Regions from separate parts of the Homo sapiens genome. Here all the other regions are linked to region 2. Evidence: promoter capture Hi-C in 16 types of primary human blood cells and fetal thymus (Javierre and others, 2016). All regions are on one chromosome and are shown on one strand. The core of a region is centred on a gene start or on the middle of the fragment in contact, and the rest is flanking DNA. Distances in the headings are between cores, read along the strand shown.

Region 1 (2,700 bases), core at 80-2,579, 630 kb after region 2:
TGGTGGTGGGCGCCTGTAGTCCCAGCTACTCAGGAGGCTGAGACAGGAGAATTGCTTGAATCTGGGAGGCAGAGCTTGCAATGAGCTGAGATCCCACCACTGCACTCCAGCCTGGGTGACAGAGGGAGACTCCGCCTCAAAAAAAAAAAAACCCGGAAATCATGTTACCAAGTATTTATTTGGGATGAGGACAGGAAATCGAGGACAAGGTATAAGAATAACAATTCCCTTTAATGCTCAAAGAAAATTATGAACTCTTTTTCTCTAGTCTGCAAGCTTAGTAGCAGCAGATTGGGTAGCGTTCACCAAGGATGAAGCAGGTCCCACCAAGATGTTCTCCAAAAATGCAGTATAGTACTCTGCAATGGCAGATCAAGCCCTTTGTTGAGCCTGGGGACCCAGAGAGAGCATCAGAAACTGAGTACGGGGTCAGCAGTGGGTGGTAAAGGGAATCTTGGAGAAGTCACATGTTGGCTGATGAGTGATGTTGGCTGTATTACAGCCGGTAGCACAAACAATCTCAGTCAATAGGAATAAATACACAGAGCAGTGCTGGTCACACAGGATTCGAGACTCATTCTCCTTTGCTTCACTTTTGTGCATTCGTGCCCATCACACACACACCTGAACACATTCTTAGGCTCCTCTCCAGGTTCTAAAACCTCCTATATAGACAGGGTGAAATATTTTCTATATACTTAAGCTTGTTTGTCTGGCTCCAGAAGGAACTAGGTAGCATCTCCTTATATCTTAAATCTAGTGAATTTCACAGTCATATCTTGGAATCAAGTTTTTGGAGAAAGAAAAATCTCTTAGATTTCTTTGGTTCTCTATTCCATTTAGATATGAGAAAATCCAGGACCAGAGATGTTAAGTATAGCCACCTAAGTGACATCTGCCACTGAGATCCAATTCCAGAGCCTGTCTCCTGTCCTTCTGTCTAGTCTGTAGCTCTGCATGCTGGCATCTCTCACCTGGAACCTGAAGAGAGCAGCTGTCATCTCCTGAAAAGTAAAGGACCACATCCTGGTCATCTGCTGGAGGCTGCTTCTGGGCTGGCATCTCATGAGCTCTTGCCGGGAGCGGCTCTGCCCAGGCCTGAAGGGCCACCAGGAGAAAGGCAGAGAGGAGGGTGAGGGTCCTCCTAACTGTAGTCACCTGGAGGAGAGGAGGGAGAGCAGGAGTGGATGTGTGGGAACGGAGGAGCCAGGCTGAATTTATAGCTCTGCTGCGAGAAGGCTCAGAGATGGATGCTGCAGTGAGAGGAGGTAGGCATTTCGTTGGAGAGGTTGCAGGTGTCCATTGGCCTCCACATCCTTCTGAGACTCCTCTGCTCTCCCAGCTTTCATTCTAGTGTGAATCTCTAGGTTTAGTGTCTATGCTAGCTTGGAATTCACGGTGATGATAAGGACCCTACCATTATTTCTGTTTTTACCTGTTTAAATATTTACTTTTAATATTGCAAAAAGTAATCGAAACAGTGATTTAATTCAGTAATTTCAGGGAATAAATCCTGCTTATTTTCTGAAAATGAGAGCTCTTCTCTTCAGAGATCCAGACCCTCATAACAGACCTGAATTCCACTGTAGTAGAGAACTAATTCATTGCAGGATTCAAGGGCATTATCACCCTCATGAAGGGGTTTTTGAGGTTAGGGGATGAGCAGTCTCCTATAGGAGCTGGGGTAGAGAGGACAGCAACCTCATCAGGCTATAGGTGAAACAAGTTCAGTGAGATAGAGATAGAGTTGATTGAAAGATAAAAATATGTTTATTATTTTCAGCTCAATGTGTGTAAATAGACACATTGTATGTGTCTAATATATACTACCTTAGAATTTGAGATATGTATACATGTGGTCTTTTTTCTTATACCACATACAAAAATCAACTCAATGGATTGAAGACCTAAACATAAGATCTGAAACCATAAACTACTAGAAGAATATATAGGGATAAAGCTTTTTGACATTAATCTGGGCAATTATTTCTTGGCTATGACATCAAAGGGACAGGCAATAAAATGGAAAATAGACAAGCGGGGCTGCGTTGAACACTAAAGCACCTGCACAGCAAAGGAAACCACCAACTGAGTGAAAAGGCAACACAGAACATGAGAGAAAATATTTGCAAACCCTACGTGTTAGAATGGGTAAATATCCGAATATACAAGGAAGTCAAACAATTCAATAGCAAAAAACAATTAATCTGATTAATCAGTGGGCCAGTGAGCCCCCATGATGGCTCACACAGGCAATCTCAGCGCTTTCAAAGGCCAAAGTAGGAAGATCGCTTGAGCCCAGGAGTTGGAGACCAGCTTGAGCAACACAGTGAGACTCCATCTCTGCAAAATAAATAAATAATAAATGAAAACTCCATGGGCCAAGAACATGAATAGACTTTTCTCAAAATAAAATAATGTTTTAGCAGCTATGAGTATGATCATCTCTGTTGGACACGTTAAGTAGGACATGTGTGTTTGGAAGGAAACTGCTTGAGTTTATTAACTGAGCTCATAGCCACTGCCCCCAGCAACCAACAGTCCCAGATGGCAAAATATTCCCTCACTGGTTCCCTCTGAGGTGGCCCCATAATCACGGGTCAGATTGGGAACACAGCTTCCTGGGTGGAACCGCAGTATGAAAGTTTAAGTTTTGTATTGTATTACTGACAGATTGTTAAGCTACGTGAGGCTACCAGA
Region 2 (2,700 bases), core at 201-2,700:
TAATATTTCTAGAAGAAATCCTAGGAGAAAATATTTGTGATCGTGGAGATGAAGAATCTATCAAATACTAAACTTTTTTTACCACCTTGACCAAAAGTAATTGGTTTATATACTTCATCATATCATTTAATTCAAAATCTACAGAGATCAATGTCACTTTCTCAGTAAAAGTACGTGAGTCTTCAATGATGCCCTGAACTCACACTCCCAAGTAAACCATAACACCATATTTCCAGAGTAGAGTTTATTAGAACAATAACTGGTGATAATGATAAATATTGATCAAAGACTGAGCCTAGGAAGTGGGTTTTTTGAGGCTGCATATACTCAAGGCAATTCTTCAGAACCACAGAGGGCTCATTGGATCCTATTAAAAGCTGAGAGTGAATGAATAAACAGATAAAACAGAGACCTGAGTAGACGGTAGTCGATATTCTTTTACATGTATTCTACCTCTAGATTCCATAGAAAGAACTAAAAGTACATGAATTTCACTACCAACATCTCCATCAGTTACCAGCTGTATCACCTTGGATCAGTCAGGTAACCTCCCGCGAATCTGGTTGCTTCCGGGGCAGGGGATCCGCGGGCTGCAGGTTTGAGCCTGGTTGCCGGCAGGGTGGAGCAGCTGGAGGGCCAAGCCTTTGAGCTCCAGGGGGGGTGGCCGGGACAGTGGGTAGTGCCAGCCGATCGGCGTCCTGGGGATTGCCTGAATGTGAGGTCTGGGTTCACCCCGCGGTGACCTGAGTCCTGGGATGCCCCTACAGGGATTTGCTGCCTCAGGGATCCGAAGTCTCTTTCATTCCCTTACTGGGGATTTGAGGTCTGGAGGTACTCCTGCGGGGGTCTGAGATCTCGGGGTCACCCTGTGGGGGTCTGAAGCCTCGGGGTCCCCGCGTGGGGTCTGAGGTATCAGAGTCCCCTCCGTTGGGTCTGAGGTCTCGGGGTCCCCCATCCCCGGGATCGGAGGTCCGGCTCCCCGGAGCAGGCAGGGCGGTGCGTCTGGCCCTGAACAGTAACGTGGCGCGCCAGCCCCAGGTGGTGTCGGGCTAGGGGGGCATAACGGTGCCGAAAGTCCGCACAAAGCCGTCCGCTGGGGTCCCGCCGCGTCCGCGAGGGAATGACTGTGCCCCCTCCCCTTCCTGATCCTCAGCTCAGGTGAGCCCAGATGAGGCGCCGGGTAGCTTCTAAGTCACTAATGGAAATAGAAGGCTAATTCAGGGGTTAGGGGCCGTCGTCCTCCTTACTCCCAGGAGAAGAGAAAAACCCACGGCCCAGCAGCCAGAGGCGCGGCGAGGCGGAATCGGGCCCCCTCCCCGGGGGCTCAGCTCCCTCCAGCCTCCCGCCTCACCTACAGAGAAATCCCGGAAACGCGGATTCAGCGGAGCGCGGTGACGGCGGCGCGCTCACCCCGCGCATGCCCAGTGCCCGCGCGCGCCGCCAGGCTCGCAAGCACCGCGTAGGCCAGCTGGCCGGATCCCGCCGTCTGTCATGGCGGCCCCCATCCTGAAAGGTGAGGTACTTCCTGCTGCCTGCTCCAGCAGCGGGAGTTTGAGGACCGGCACCCCTCGTCGCGGGCGCACTCGGGGGATCCCGTGGGAGGAGCCCCGCTCGCCCCTCCCTCGCTGCCTGTCTCCCCCAGACCCCCTGCCGCCTCCTTCCTCCCCCGCTGCCTGTCCCACCAAAACCCCCTGCTCCTGCTCTCTCCCCCGCTGCCTGTCCCCCCAAAACCCCCGGCTGCCTGCTTCGTCTCCCGTGCTCCCTGTCCCCCCAAACCCCCGACTGCCTGCTTCCTCCCCCGTACTGCTTGTGCCCCAACCCCCGTGCTGCTAGTTCCCCTCAATCCCCCGCTGCCTGCTCCCTCCCCCATGCTGCCTGTCCCCCAAATCCCGCCTTTCCCCCTACCTGCTTTCACCCCTGCTGCCTTAGTCCCTGGATCTGGGGCTCACTGGCAGGCAGAGTCCTGCCCTCCGGAAGTTGGTGTGGGGCCCTCCTGGGTCTGGTCCTGTTCGACCCCCTCTGAGGCCCACCTGGAGGAGCGGCAGTTGAGTTTCTATGCTAATTGTTCCAATAATAGGAGCCGCCTTTTACTGCGGAGTCTTTGTGTGCCAGGCGCTGTGCTTAGGCTAGTATGGTATTGTCTGATTTTTTTAACCGCTCTATCAACTCTCTTATATCATTTTACAGGCAGAAACTAAGGCATCGGACGTTTAGGTGACTCTCCCTGTGTGTGGCTAGTCAGTGCTGACAGGGCCTTAGACCGGAGCTGCTGTCCTAACCAGTATATGATACCGCACGCAGTCCCACCCTCTGTGCACCTGGAAGAGCCCAGGAGAGGGGAATAGCGGACACGTGTCTTGTAGAGTTTGACCGTGAGAAAAAAGGGGCCTGTATTGTGGGGCCTGGAGTCATAAAACCTCATAGCCAAAAGTAAAGACTAGAGGCTTTATACAAAGTCTGTAATCAGATGTGGCTATTTTTCTAATGTTAGTATTTTGTTAAATTAACCTGGTTTTCTTTTAGCGTTACCCCCAATCATTGACCAACGGCACACCTGGAAAATGCTTTTAAACATCAGGTTTTGAGAAGAGGATATCCACTAGAACAGGGGTCCACTCACTATGCCCCCCAGGCCATATCTAGCCTGCTGCCTGTTTTTGTAAGGGTCTACGAGCTAAGAATGTCTTTTACATTTTTAAG
Region 3 (2,700 bases), core at 87-2,586, 510 kb after region 2:
ACATGCCTGTAGTCCTAGCTACTCAGAAGGCTGGAGCAGGAGAATTGCTTGAACCTGGGAGGCGGAGGTTGCAGTGAGCTGAGGTCGTGCCATTGTTCTCCAGCCTGGGCAAGACAGCGAGACTCCCTCTCAAAAAAAATAATTTTATTTGAATTATCTTTCTGTGAAAGAAATAGGTTCTGGCTCCCGCACTTCCTGTGCACTGATCTTATTTGATGGAACAAAATTTGAATGTGCTACCTATATCATAGGCTGTTCAGGGATACCAAGAAAGATAGATAAATAGACAGATAGATTACGAATATAGATAGATAGACATAGAGCTAGAGATAGAGATATCTTCCACCTATCTGCTCACTATGCCAGGGTATCCTTGAAGCATTTGTTAACTCGACACAGCCACAGCATAGAAGAAACTTGGGTCTTGAATGACTGCATGGAGCAGAGTCTGCTCTTGCATAGGAGCCCCAATACCCTGTATTCTGGACCCTGCTGCATCCACTCGGGCTGAAGAATTCAAGAAAAAGCCACCTATCTGTTATAGCCCTTCCCTCCAGAGAGATCAGTGTATTAGTAATCGCCTTATTTATTTTGACTTTGATAGTATTTTTTGTTATAAAACAACTCTTGATGTTATTAATGTGAGATAGTCCGAAGATTGTTTCTTCTCACTGTATAATGAAAGCAACTGGGGCAGAAATAACCAAAATCAAAAAGTGCATTAAAAACAGATGGCTGCAGGTGTCCTATTATCTTTCATTTGTGTTAATTAAATTTAGTGTTGGCAGATAATATAAAGAGATACTCAGTTCAATCTGACTTTTGGAGAAATTACAATTTTTATTAGTACAGTTATTTCCAAATATTGCAAATATGAGAACAAATAACCCCCAACTCATAGTGATTCAATGCAATAGAGGTTTATTTATGACTCATGGAATAGGCTGCAGGATGGGGGGCATTGGGGCACTCATGTGGGGGCAGCCTTTGCTCCTTGCAGTCATTCAAGACCCAGGTTTCTTGTATGCTGTGGCTCTTTTAAGTTCAATAAATGCTTTGAGAATACCCTGGCATAGTGAGCAAACAGGAGGAGGATATCTGTATCTCTATCTCTGTCTCTATCAGACCTGTATCTAAAATCTCTGTCTCTCTCTCTCTCTCACTCTCTCTATCTTTGTATCACTGAACAGCCTATGACATAGGTAGTACATTGAAATTTTGTTTCGTCGAATAAGATTGATGCACAGGAAATCCAGGAACCAGAATCTATTACTTTTATTGAAACATAATTGAAATGAAACCACTACTTGTTGAAACTGGCTGCTGATGAGGGGTTAAAGATGAAATCTAAAAATACAGTGTCATTTTATTTTGTATAAAAGTTAAAGAATATTCTGAGTTTGCTGTAGGTTTTTACTTCTTCTTTTATTTCTGCAGATAACTCTGAGGTTATTTTGTTTCGATGTGTTGTTGAAACAAAGCATAGAAATTATTCAGATACATAGTATTTCCTGCCAGTAGCTTTGTCATCAATCTGACTGAGACACATCACCAAGGAAAAGCAAACTTTAAATATGAAATAGGCAGTCTTCATTCAAAATATTTATAGGCATTTAATATGGATAACCACTGTTTCACGTATAACTTTTGCTTAATTATAATTGAGAAAGAACAGTAAGTTACGAAGAGGACGGTGATTCTCTCTGTTTCATGCCTCCCAGCACACTAGCATTAAACAACAGGCACAGAGATTTTTTTTTCTCTGTACCATGTTTTGTTCTGGTTATATTTATTGGCATGTAATTTTGTGTTTATGGAAACAAATAATAAAAATAGAACTAATTATATATATGCCTTAAAAAATGTACAGCTTGGCACAAGAAAAAATGGAAAGAAAGAGAAAAGGGTCTTTCACTAGAGAATATTTGGGAGGGAAGATGGAGTGGGTGCTGCCAGGTGGATGTGTGGCGGAACCTTTTTGCCAGCTTGTTTCCCTTGGGCCTTGGGCCACTTTGTTTTCTCTGAAAGTGCTTTCTCTTTAGCAGGGACTTTGGTAGCATGAGCGGAACCCCTAGGTGTTCATGGAAACCTGGCTGTCCAGGGGCTTGGGGACACCATGGGACACGCTGCCACCCTCTAGTGGTAGAATAGAGACGCACTTCACCACCAGGGGGTCTCCTCTCTGTCATTGTTTTCCAGCCTCAAAAAGTCACATCCTAGCCCTGCGCTCATGGTGGCTCAGGCCTGTAATCTCAGCACTTTGGGAGGCCGAGGCGGTTGGATCACTTGAGGTCAGGAGTTTGAGACCAGCCTGAACAATGTGGTGAAACCCCATCTCTATTAAAAACAGAAAAACTAGCCAGGCGTGGTGGCAGGCACCTGTAATCCCAGCTACTCCAGAGGCTGAGGCAGGAGAATTGCTTGAACCTGGGAGACGGAGATTGCAGTGAACTGAGATCACGCCACTGTACTGCAGCCTTGGCAATGGAGTGAGATGCTGTCTCAAAAAACAAACAAACAAACAACAACAACAAAACCTCACATCTTTTTTGGATAACATGAAAACCCTATACTTAAACCCCCTTCCCTGACCCAGAGATTCTTAGCGGTGTCTGTTTGAGAATCACTGAATTTGTTGCACAATTTTGACAGCTGAGATTTGGTGTAATCATTGTTGAGGCTTGTAATACAAAAAGCAAA
Region 4 (2,700 bases), core at 128-2,627, 530 kb after region 2:
GGAGTTCAAGCAGGAGTCCACGGAGGTACCGACCCCTCGTCTACTTTGGTCAGCCCTGGCCAGGCCCAGGCAGCAATCAACTATGGATTCCTCATGACTCCTAAGACAATTGACCCCATGATACCTATGCTGGTGGCTGAGGCTGAACTACCTGGACCGAGGGAATATTTAAAGCCACCAGGAGAGCCTGGCCTGCATATTGTTGTATACACCTTGCGAGGAGACTAGGATCAAAATGCCACCCACACACAGATGAGGATTTGGAATGTGGTCTGAACTGACCTCCCCAGGCCCTGGGGTCTAACCATAAAAACAAATCCAAGCCATTCAGACAAGTAAGGTTGGAGAATACCTGGATGAGACTGAATACCGCCTGGGCTTGTGTTGCTGGATAGGGCAGGTTGCAGGCTCCCGAGTAAAGGATGTGCATATAGCATGTGGTTCCCTAGAGGGGACAGTCACCTTTTTGCTTGGCCTTAGATAGTTCAAGCCTAAATGACTGTCTAGGTCATCCAGGCCAAGGACTCATCAAATGATTGCGTGACACCTAATGTCTGTCAGAAGTCCCTTAGGATGGTGGCCAAAGCTGCAGCGAGATTGGTGTTAGCTTGCATCACCTTGTGTTGTGAGCTCAAATACCCTGTTCCCAAACCAATCCCGTAGGCTTACGAGTCTCCCTACACCCAGAGTTAGGAAGATGGTCACTGGGTGGGGGGGATGCATAAGCTTTCCCTTGTGTGGTCCCTCCTGGGTTATTTGAAGGGGAGTCCCAGGGAGACTAGTGCACATTTTAAAATGTACCACTCTCCACCATCCTCCTCCTTGTAGTGAGGTAAACGGGATGAGGTTTCTGGAAATGAGAAAAGAATGCAGTTGTTCCTGAGGGAATGAATACCTATAGTGAGGTTGCTGAACCCAGTATGCAGTCCAGGCAGCCCCTGCCGCCATGGGAGGGCCGTGCACAGCGCTGGTCCAGCAGGCTGGGTGCTCAGGGCCTCCCCTGCAGCTCTGCGTGAAGGCAGCAGGCACTGGGCTATGGAGGACTGGGGGCAGCGGCGCTCTCAGTCTTAAGGAGGGAAGAGGCATCTCAAGCCTCGCTAGGGGTGGTCGCTGTTCCAGAGCAGTGAAGTCGGCTGCCCCTATGAGGAAGCAGTGAGTTCCTGATCTGTTGCAGGCCCAGCAATTTCACCTTTGGAGGAAGTGGGCACTGGACTCATTCCAGCAGAGGAAGAAATTAGGGCTATTTGGGGAACTGGGCCCCAGATGATGGTTTTAGGTTCTAGGGCATTAGTAGGTGCCTGAAGGGCCCAGTGGATATGGATGTAGAGGCAAAATGAGAAGGGGTGTGTGTGCACGTGGGGAAGGTCTGGTGGTTGTGGGGATGTCCAGTGTCCTGCAGAAGTGAAACCTGGACCAGCCTCCTGCACACAGAACACACTCCAATCCATAGGCATTTTCCTAGTAACATAGGAGAGAGCTGTTATTGGCAGAGCTGGTTAGATTTGGGTGTGATATTATAACAGACAGGTCTTCCAAGTCCATATTTTTTGGCATAACTTGTAGGGCAGCCTCCTGATCTGATCCAAGCCTTGTGGTTTCCTTGCAGTAGGCGGTTTAACTAATGGGTTACACTGAAGACAAATGGGGATCCCAGCAAAATACCATTCTAAGGGGTCATCTGCAGGGTCCTCAGGAAAGCATGAGCTAAGAAAGCACGGGTCCAGGTACTGGACGTGAGCCAACTCCATGTCCCGGGGGTGGTGAGATCCATACCTTGCGGCAGGAAGGAGAGTAAGGTGAGTCTGGTTTGGGGATGACCCCACAGTCAAGATGAGATTCCTTGGTGTCTCTGGTTCTGGTGAGGCCACTGTTTCCCAGGACAAACCCTTGGATCAGAGCACTGTCTTCTGAGGTGATGGCCTTTCGGGTAGGGGTGGCCTTTCCAGCTGGTCACTCAAGAAGAGAGAGGGTATGGGCTGGTGTTGCACAGGCCTCTGGCCTCTGTGGGACTCCATGGAAGCGTTTAGTGAAAGCTTGAGTGGTGCTTTCCTTGGTCGGGGGATAGGACATTTCCATCCACAACTCACATACTTTGGAGCACAGAAGTATCCCTAAGCCCATGAACGTGTTTGAATGCTTTCTCTGCATGTGAGGCTCCAACCTTTCCGGCCACAGACTGAGTTTGTGCTGAGGCATCATTAGCTGGTTTGTATTCATGCCTGGTCATGGGGAGGGCCACCTGCCTCTGATTGTGGGGGTTGCTGGTGTTTAAGCTTTAGTGCCATGGGTCCCATTCAATATCTAAGGATCGGGTTTCCTGGCTTGGATCCAGGTCAGGTGGCATTTGGGGTTTTGCCCCTCTAGCACATTGCCTCAACATGCCACAGTTTTCCAGCCTGGGGTTCAATTTCTCACAGTGGCTGTCCTGTTCCAGCAGCTCTCTGGGATGCCAGGCCCCAGGCCTAAGAGCAGCCGTACAACATTTACATACATAAGATACCCAGCAAGGCCAAAGATAGAGAGCACTGACAGCTTATAACTCAGGGATTTCCTCAAGGTACTTTTACGTCGATATTGATTATGGGGTGGGCTTTCACCAACATTTCTTCAGAGCATTTTTCTGCAATCGACACAGGACATGGTGATGGTAGTTCCATGTGGTCTTTGTCTGATGTAGTTGGCGTCCTCTAGTTTGATGGC
Region 5 (2,700 bases), core at 201-2,700, 550 kb after region 2:
GCTTTCCAGTGTGGGACACAAGTTCTGACCAGGGCAGTCCTGTTCTAGCAGCTTTTGGACTTTGGATCCTGAGTCTGACAGTAGCTCCACAAGCCATGGGAACATAAGATACCAAGCAAGACCAACCATAAAGAGCACTGAGATTTTATCACTCAGGGCTTTGATATTGACATCGATTATGGTGTGAGCTTTCACCAATGTTTCTTCAGAGTCTTTCTCCACCATTGACACAGGCTACATTTGGGAATGATACTTCCATGTGATCATCAGCTAATGTAGTCTATGTCCACTAGTCTGAAGGCTTCTGTTTGTTTAGTGACTCATTCTGTGCCCTTTTTGGGTCTTGGAGCAATAATCCCTACTACCTCCAGGAAGGGGTGAGTGGGAGACATTAGCTAAATTTCAAAGTAGTAAGAACTGGAGCTTCTGCTGGAAGCTGCACGTCAAGATGGGAGGTGTGGTATAGCAGAATCACTGTGGCCCTGCTGGGTACCAGTGGGCCTGGGCTGCCAGTCCTTAGGGACTCACAGCTTACTATCCATCCACAATCTGTTTTCCAGTAAATGTATGATGTTGAGACAATGGACCTCTTATCACAGTATGAGGAGTTATCATTATTGGAGCAAATGTGAATGATGTTATCTGTAAGGGAAAATGAACCTTACTCTTCTGTGATTACCAAAGTGTTCACCATGGTGGGCCTGGCCTAATTATAATGAGGCACTGGTGGCCACAGGGTAGAGAGTTAAGAAAGTTAGGACTCTCAGAAGGGGCTTGGTCCCCTTGGGGTTTCATGCCACAACTTCAATAAGAATGACTTTAGGAGGCCACTGTGCTGCTTGGGGAGGCTGGTGGCTTGGGGGCAATGGGCCAAGTGAGAGTCCCCTAAACCCTCATGCTGTGATGCCCATTCCTATGTCACCACCACTGCCTTGAAGTGGGAGCCTAGGTCTTGATCAATGATATTGGGTGGTTTCCGAGAGGGAAATGTCACAGAGCAAATGTCACAGCAAGAGAGCACCTGCTACACCAAGGGTCTTGGGTTGGAAGAGTTGATGGAAGTGCAGGGTTGTGTGTCTGCTTCTGCACGCAAAGGTGCTGGCTGTGTGGTAGGGGCCCAGTGAAGTCAATGTGCTGAAAGGTTGATGGCCCAGGAACAAGGGAGTGCCGGCCACAGCCTGTGTTAACCACGGCACGGCATCTGCAGTTGAGCATCCCTTGCTTGGTTGGAGATCTGGTGAGAGGCACCAGTGGCCTAGGGTACCCTCTAAAGTGGCCACAGCCTCCAGTGTCTAAAGTTCGGGGGCGCCACTTTGGTTTGAGGGCCAGGATGCCATTCTCTCCACTGCAGATGCTGCTCTACACCTTCTTCTAATCTATTCACATTTTCAATATCTCATGTTTCACCATGAAATTAACCACTGAAAATTCACATTTTCAATATCTCATGTTTCACCATGAAATCCTTTATTGCCACTCTAAGACAAAATGATCTCTGTCTTTCTCCTGAAGTCCTAATGCTTCATGAAGCCACATTTTACCCAGGATATTGTTCTACATTTCAGACTTCAGTGTTTTTGATTTGTTTCTTAAAGGTTTGCTATCACAGGCACTAGACACATGGACTGCCTTACCTCAGTAGGTTTCAGTTTTTTCCTATATAGTTTAGTGATGATAATAGAATTCTATATAATTACATGATATTGGTTATAATTAATTTATCCATAATGAATTTGTTGATCCCCTACTATGTATTAGGCAGTTATCTACGCACTGTGGTATAACGATAAGCAAAACATGCTGCTCACCTTCTATTGTAGGGAGAGAAATGTTACAGATGGTAAGTGAAACGTACAGAAGGTGAGATAGTTACAATTCCACAGTTAGGAATAAAGAGAACAAGAGGGATGGAGGCCACTAGGGGAACTTGTTGCAATTTAAAATTGAGAAATCGAGAAAGACCTCAGTGACAAGGTGAAATTTTAGCTGAGACTTCAGGTCTGGGCAACCAGCTGGTGCCCTTCGGGGTGCAGTGCAGATGCCCCGAGATGGAGTCAGCTCGGCCCCCATGGCAGTTTGGAACAATATGGAAAGTAACTTATGATCGCATGATTTTGAATCAGTGGCAGTTCTTAGAAACTAAGGAAGGCTCCTGCACTTCAAACGGTGAATCCCAATATGTTTCCGTCACTGTCTCAACAAGAGGAAGAGCTCAGACCATTTCTCTGTCACACACAGACTTACTGTGTCTTCCCTGGGACCTGTATTGAGTTCCCCAGCTGTGCGGTGTCTCAGAGGGGTGCCTGGACTCCTGAGCTGCCTCTTCAGATAGGCAGAGCCTCAGTCTGGAGCCACGATCTGCTCAGAATCTGCATGGGGTGTGCGTAAAAACACCTGCATTCTTCTCCTGGGCTCTGGGCATTTGTCGTTAGTGTTGGTGGTCACGGCAGTGTCTGGGCCATGAGACGATTTAGTCAGAAATGGTGAATAACCCACTTGAGACACCTTCCTTTCTTTGAAGCCTGTAATTTTTCTATCCCAGTCAAACTCCTTAGGACCTCTTAACAGTGACCACCTGCTAAGAGTAGGCATGGTTTGAATATAGTTTTTTTTTTTTTTCCCAAACATGTGTTTTGAAATCACTGACTGCAACTACACGATCCAGAGTAAATATGAGGGGCTCACACTGGACTCCCCCTC

What was found. Contacts are between HindIII fragments. The CHiCAGO score rates a contact against its expected background, and 5 or more counts as called.
Region 1: a contact is called between a fragment that was not itself captured here and the fragment with the promoter of MCPH1 in region 2, in 4 of 17 cell types (naive B cells, total B cells, fetal thymus and 1 more). The highest score is 15.2, in naive B cells.
Region 3: a contact is called between a fragment that was not itself captured here and the fragment with the promoter of MCPH1 in region 2, in 3 of 17 cell types (total B cells, naive B cells and fetal thymus). The highest score is 12.1, in total B cells.
Region 4: a fragment that was not itself captured here is called in contact with the fragment with the promoter of MCPH1 in region 2 in 3 of 17 cell types (fetal thymus, total B cells and naive B cells); the score reaches 12.1 in fetal thymus.
Region 5: a fragment that was not itself captured here is called in contact with the fragment with the promoter of MCPH1 in region 2 in 2 of 17 cell types (total B cells and fetal thymus); the score reaches 7.1 in total B cells.

The regions. Positions count from the first base shown.
Region 1 is chr8:7,038,294-7,040,993 of GRCh38, forward strand. It overlaps the pseudogene DEFA7P. Among named protein-coding and RNA genes, the nearest start is that of DEFA5, 17 kb to the right of the region's middle. The HindIII fragment of the contact is 1,257 bases long and covers 702-1,958 here.
Region 2 is chr8:6,405,177-6,407,876 of GRCh38, forward strand. It overlaps MCPH1 (microcephalin 1), which reads left to right and starts at 1,451. Exons shown (of 14, transcript NM_024596.5): 1 at 1,451-1,513. The coding sequence starts at 1,492. MCPH1-DT (MCPH1 divergent transcript) reads right to left here and starts at 1,372. Exons shown (of 2, transcript NR_040040.1): 1 at 530-1,372. RefSeq lists silencers at 1,193-1,272, 1,533-1,712. The HindIII fragment of the contact is 9,682 bases long and covers 1-2,700 here.
Region 3 is chr8:6,917,342-6,920,041 of GRCh38, forward strand. No RefSeq gene overlaps it. Among named protein-coding and RNA genes, the nearest start is that of DEFA6, 7.4 kb to the right of the region's middle. The HindIII fragment of the contact is 7,598 bases long and covers 1-2,700 here.
Region 4 is chr8:6,938,438-6,941,137 of GRCh38, forward strand. No RefSeq gene overlaps it. Among named protein-coding and RNA genes, the nearest start is that of DEFA4, 1.5 kb to the left of the region's middle. The HindIII fragment of the contact is 1,307 bases long and covers 725-2,031 here.
Region 5 is chr8:6,955,317-6,958,016 of GRCh38, forward strand. No RefSeq gene overlaps it. Among named protein-coding and RNA genes, the nearest start is that of DEFA4, 18 kb to the left of the region's middle. The HindIII fragment of the contact is 4,236 bases long and covers 1-2,700 here.